Regions from separate parts of the Homo sapiens genome. Here region 1 is linked to region 2. Evidence: promoter capture Hi-C in 16 types of primary human blood cells and fetal thymus (Javierre and others, 2016). All regions are on one chromosome and are shown on one strand. The core of a region is centred on a gene start or on the middle of the fragment in contact, and the rest is flanking DNA. Distances in the headings are between cores, read along the strand shown.

Region 1 (2,796 bases), core at 172-2,671, 240 kb before region 2:
GCAGTCATAAGATTTATAGATCTTTTAGTTAGATATTATTGATTTGGTTTTCCTTTACTTTCTAGCTCCTATGACTTCTAGAAGTACATCTACTTGGAGAATACCCAGCAGGAAGAGACGTAAGAGCAATTAAAAACTCTTGATGTAACAAATGTCTTTATTTGCTGCAAAAGCTACATTCACTTTTTATGTTATATCCTTTAAAATAAAAAATTAATTTGTTGGGATTTTAGATGATTTGCATTTTACATTTTCAATTAGATGAGTTGGGCTGGTATAAAACATAAGCCTCAAAATGTTCAAAGGCACAAGTGCAACATAAGTTTATTTTTCACTCACATAAATAGGATAAAGTAGTTCCTGAGTAGAGGGGGTGCCCACACAGTCATTCAGGGCCCAGCTGATGGGGGCTCTGACATCTTTAAGATGTTGCTTCCATGGTTCCCTTGGATAAGAAACTGAGATGGAAGCAGAAGTATGTGCAAACTAATAATGAAAGCCTAAGAAGCGTAAGAAACAACGTTGTCCTAGGATTGTATTCAGAAAAGATTGAACATTATGTATGTTCCTTTTATTTGATTATGCATGAATGAGATAGGAGAAAACGATGGAAGGATCCACACTGATCTGTTGACTTCACTAGCTGGGAGACCAGAGACAGAATAGGGTAGGAAAAGAGAGCTTTGGGGTTATATACATTTGCATTCATTGGTCTTCTTATGACAAGCATATATTGCTTTCTTAATTTGAAACCACCCAATGAAATGGATGATTTATAATAAATACATATTTTTCCCAAAGTTAAAAAAAAAAAAGAAGAAGAAACAATGTCATCCCCAGCCCCAGCCTCAGAGAGGGCTCCTGGAGCAATCTTGACCAACAGGTCAGATGATCAAAGCCAAAGGGTGGCCTAGTGGTGGGACTATTTCTCCCCCTCCTCCACAAGCTTCTCTTGTTCAGTTTTGCTTTTAAAGAATTCCCTGCTGATTCCTAAGACTCAGACTAAGACTGTTAAGGAATTTTATTTTTTTCTGCAGGTTTCAGCAGTAGTGACTTTTCAGACCTGAGTAATGGAGAAGAGCTTCAGGAAACCTGCAGCTCATCCCTAAGAAGAGGGTCAGGTAAAGAAGATTAGGATGCCAAGACTTGGCCTGCAGAATGTCAGGAATGTGAATTAAAAGCTGCTGTTTCCAGACGCTTTTTATTCTGAGCACCTTCACTACCTTGTATCCAGTTCATCTGGGAACTCCTTTTTGCATTTTAGAAAATGGAAAGAGGCAGGAAATTATGATAAACTCATGTTTAACAGAAAGAGTTTCACTGACTAAATGTATGTAATTATATTTTGTTGTTGTAGAAGAAATAAATAGCAAATTTGTGGTATTCTTTTTTTTAAACCTGCTCTCATTCCTATTAACACTAAGATCTTAGATTTTTATAGTGATAAATGGGTTGACATCATTGTCATTTGTAATTGTAAAGCCTCAAAAGACAACTGTTCCTACTATGTAATTATAGACAGAAATAAAAACTTCAGATCAAACACTCTCAAACGTTAGTATAGTTTTTGGTAGATGTCCTTCATCATGTAATTGGATTATATTGTGTTATTTCAATGTCTTTTGGCAAATAATATCTTATTTTGTCATCACAAAATTTTTAAGACATAGGCAGGCTAACTATACCCATTTTGGGGTGAGGAAATAGATGTACAGAAGTATTAGGGCCAAAAAACTAAAGAAACAATAGAAACTAGCAACCCAGGTGTCTCACGGTGGGTGACTGTTGTATGTAACAGACAGGAGGATAAGAGCTGTGTCATTTAAGTCAAAGTCCAAAGAAGATGCGCAAGGAACTCAGAATATTCACAGGAGACTATACCAGTGCCTGATGCAAGAAAGCTTATTTAACAACCACTGTGTGTGTGTGTGTGTGTACACATGCATATATTTGTTACATATAACATGTATACATACATAAACACACACATATGTGTGTGTATATATGTATATTGGTTAATACATATAATCTTTAGGGGGAGGGAAAAATAAAAATCGCAAACAGACAGAGATAATAGGAATGGAACCAGCTATATAATATACAAAATACCTAGAAAGACAGAAGCAAAATAGATAAACATAGAAATAAAGGAGAACAGAACATCATTGATGGAAACAGAAAAAGCAACACAGGAGACAAGATAAATCAAAGGGAGATGAGCTCACCGAATCAAAGAGACAGAGACAAAAATGTATAGCAGCAGGGCAATGGGCAGAAAAATGAGAAGTGAGAAGGAGAACGAAGTGTGGCCAGATAGAGTAGGGCTATGAGGTGTACTCATTGATATAGGTGTATTTTTTTGTCAGTCCGTTTAAGCTCTGAAAATAGTTCAGCATGACCACATTGAGACAGGTTCCCTGGTTTCCTCGTCACTGTCTATAGTCTATTATTTCCTTGTTTGTCTTCATTGTCCTGTGAATTTAGAGCTCCTCCAATGAATACACAAAGAGAGTCAGAAGAGATGCAGCCCATTAGCTTGTGATGGAGAAGCCGATTATGATGTTCAGTTCATTATTAATTATCTTTTTTTTCCTACTTGCATGGAGGAAAAGTTCTTTTTTCTTTTCCTTACCTCTCCCCCAAAACATATGCACACACACATACACACCACACACACAAAGACTTGTGCACAGACTCGGGCTGCTTGCGACAGGTTTGAGGGAGCGAAAAGAAAAAGAAGAGCTGGGCTCCTGAATGGAGGGAGGAGACACTGAGTGGATAAAGTAAGGAGAAAGA
Region 2 (3,116 bases), core at 82-2,581:
CGCACTTCTTCCTCATCTCTTCCCCTATCTGGGGCCGCTTTCAAGCCAGCAGATTCTCGCCTCAGGGCCTTGGTCCTGCTATTCCCTCTGCCTTTCCATACAGAAAGCTCCCAGGCTCTCTCTCTCCAGGAAGCTGCTCCCTGAATGAACACTGTAAATAACAACACCCTGCTTTCTCTCCCCTCCTCACCCAGTGGTGTTTTTAACTGTCCAGTATTTGTTTTTTTGTTGTTGTTTTTTGTTTGTTTTGTTTTTGTTTTTTGGAGATAGTCTCGCTGCGTCGCCCAGGCTGGAGTGCAGTGGCGCGATCTCGGCTCACTGTAACCTCCGCCTCCCGGGTTCAAGCGATTCTCCTGCCTCAGCCTCCTAAGTACCTGGGAATACAGACGCCCGCCACCACGCCCGGCTAATTGTTTTTTGTATTTTTAGTAGAGATGGGGTTTCACGGTGTTGGCCAGGCTGGTCTTGAACTCCTGACCTCGTGATCCGCCCACCTCGGCCTCCCAAAGTGCTGGGATTACAGGCGTGAGCCACCGCGCCTGGCCCAATTGTCCAGTATTATACATACCTGTAGGTTTATTAGTCAATTATTTGTCAACTGTTTGTGCTAGGAGCATGGACTGTTTCGCTCACTGCCCCATCCCTGACGTACAGGAGGCGCTTAAAAAGTAGTTCAGTTACACATTAAAAACAAAGAAACAAAAATACACACATATGGCATTTGTATGTGCCAGGCTCCGTTGTCAGAGCTTTGCAATGCACTGTCCCGTTCATCCTCAGAAGCCCGTGGCTGGTACCACTATATTATTACACACTTTTTTTTTTAATGTGTGAGGAAATCCAGGCACAGGGACGTGAAACAGCCCATAGATAGCAAATGGTGGAGCAGGACTTAAATCCAGGTTGCTGATTTAAATAGGAATATTCCCATTAATCTGGAACGTTCTGGCACTTGTCCCCCTGGATGCTGTGTCCCCCTGGATGCTAAAATGAAGCGATCTGCTCCAAGAAAGTAAGAATCGGTCTGCACAAAGTGGGATCCCGGCCTCTCGCAGAATTAAGCTTGAAGAGTTGAGGAAGTGGTCGTTGAAAGTGGGCGTGCGATTCCCGCAGTAAGAGCGCTCAGGCGGAGGAGAAAGGGCTGAGCCCCGCCTTGGAAGCTGCGGCGGAGGAAGAGGAACTGCGGGGCTTGGCTTCTGCTTTTCTCTGCGGCCCCTCCCGCTCGGGCCTCGCGCCTACTTGCGGCGCCCTGAGTCCGCCGGCCGCTCGGGGGCGCCCGAGGCGGAAGGGGGCGTTGCGGCACCGCCCGACGTCGCGTCCTCGGCGGCTGCGCAGTGCGCACGTCAAAGCCGGGCTCGGGCCGCAAGCGGGGCGAGGGGTTCGGGGAGCGGCGCGGCCTGGGAGACACAGAGCCTTCAGGCGCCGGGGCGGGGGCACAGGCGAAGACTAAGGCGGCGCCGGGCCCCACAGCAGCAGCCGCAGCCCAAGCGAGCGCAGCAGCGCGGCGGCAGCCGCGGGAGCCCCTGGGCAGCCGTCCGCCCGCGCAGCCGCCGCCGCCGCGGGAGCCCGTCGCCGGGAGCAGGAGCGGGCGGAAGACAACGGAGGGGCCGAGCGTCCGAGCCACTCCGCGGGGACCGAACGAGCAGCCCGAAGCGGCGGCGGCCGAGGACGGGGACAGCGACGACGCGGAGGCAGAGAAGGGAACGCCCGGCCCAGCCCCGTGAGTGACCCCCGGCCGGCCCTGCTCGTGGTGCGGACGCCTGCCCGGCTTCCGCCTGCCCCGCTGGGCCCTCACCGGCCCCGGGGCTGCCTCCATTTTCCTGGGTGGCGGCGGCCCCGGCCCAGCTTGTCCCCGGAGCCCCCGGGAGCAGCCGGGCCCAGCCTGCCCTCTCCGCCCGGCTCGGCTCCGGTCCCTCGCTGAGACGCTCCCTTTGCCTTCGCCGGCGTGGGGCGCCCGGGGGCCTGCAGTCCAGGCGCTCCTGCCTCTCCCCCCGTGGTTCTCTGGCGGGGCTGGCGGCGCGTGGTGGTCCGGGCCGGAGTCGGGCGGGCGGGGAAGTGCGGGCCGGGTCAACTGTCACCGGCTGCACCCGGGCTTCAGCGCCTCGCTCCCGCCCCTGGTAAACTTCCTGTTGTCGGGAGGCAGATACCAGCTTTGTGACCAATTCAGGAAAATGCCTAACTGATTTCTGGTTAGGAATTGGGCGGTCGGAGCGTTCTGGAGTTCAATGGAACCACCCCAAGCGCAGACTGCGTGCAGGCGCCGTAGTCGGCCCGCACCGGAGGGATTCAAAGGTGAAGCGGGCCCCGGTCCCCTCCCCCGAGGAGCTTAGGCTCTGGTGTGAGAGATAAGACGAGAACACAAATAACTGCGATACCGGGAAGGAGGTGATAAGTCCTGTGAAAGAACGACGGAGTGCTAGAACGGCACCCGGAAAAACCGAACCGATCACTTCTGCCTCGCAGAAACCTGGAAGGCTTCCTGGGCGGGGGATGCTGAGCAGAGTCTTGAAGGCCTGATGGGATTTAGGAGAGGAGGATTGCAGAAGAGGTGTGTGGAAGGGGTAGCAAAAGCGAGAAGACAAAGCCTAGAAATCATGGATAATTCCGTTTGTTGGCATGGTGCAGGGGGCGGGGGGTATTGGGCTAAAGAGGTATTTTGGGGCCAGATCCTTGAATGCTGTAGAGGAGCTATTTGAGCAGCATTCTAAGAGAAACTTAGAGCTCATTTCTCAGTGACTCATGAGCCCGGAAATGTAGGCTAGGGGATATTAAAGGCGCTCTTGTGAAAGGAGAGAGGAGGAGGCCCAGTCAGGAGTTGACATTCTGTGCCTTGAATGTAATGCAGTTTCAGATCGATTTTGACAGCTTCCCAGATAATCAAGTAAATCCATGCCCAGGCTAAGCAAAGTACCTTTGCAGAAAGCTTCATTAGATATCAGGCTCTTAAGAGGTAATGGAAAGGTGTCTATAAAATAAGCTCATCTGCACACAGAAGGTGTTTCTATTTGTGCGTTCGCTACAGTGCATAAAAACTTCTTGCACTTTGTATTAGGCGTATGTACTTTGGAATTACTAAGCTAAACCTACATTCTTTGAGGTGGCATTTGTGTAAAATA

The links. The method cuts DNA at HindIII sites, captures the fragments that hold promoters and counts their contacts. A CHiCAGO score of 5 or more calls a contact.
Region 1: a fragment that was not itself captured here is called in contact with the fragment with the promoter of CAB39 in region 2 in 1 of 17 cell types (activated CD4 T cells); the score reaches 5.0 in activated CD4 T cells.

Annotation. Positions count from the first base shown.
Region 1 is chr2:230,468,978-230,471,773 of GRCh38, forward strand. It overlaps SP100 (SP100 nuclear antigen), which reads left to right. Exons shown (of 29, transcript NM_001080391.2): 14 at 66-119; 15 at 1,038-1,121. The region is part of intron 3 of LOC101928816 (a long non-coding RNA gene); the gene reads right to left. Among named protein-coding and RNA genes, the nearest start is that of SP100, 54 kb to the left of the region's middle. The HindIII fragment of the contact is 955 bases long and covers 945-1,899 here.
Region 2 is chr2:230,711,511-230,714,626 of GRCh38, forward strand. It overlaps CAB39 (calcium binding protein 39), which reads left to right and starts at 1,332. Exons shown (of 9, transcript NM_016289.4): 1 at 1,332-1,720. It overlaps LOC124907996 (formin-like protein 16), which reads right to left and starts at 1,816. Exons shown (of 4, transcript XM_047446832.1): 1 at 569-1,816. The coding sequence starts at 1,816. The coding sequence ends at 1,058. RefSeq lists a silencer at 1,104-2,043. The HindIII fragment of the contact is 1,861 bases long and covers 1,061-2,921 here.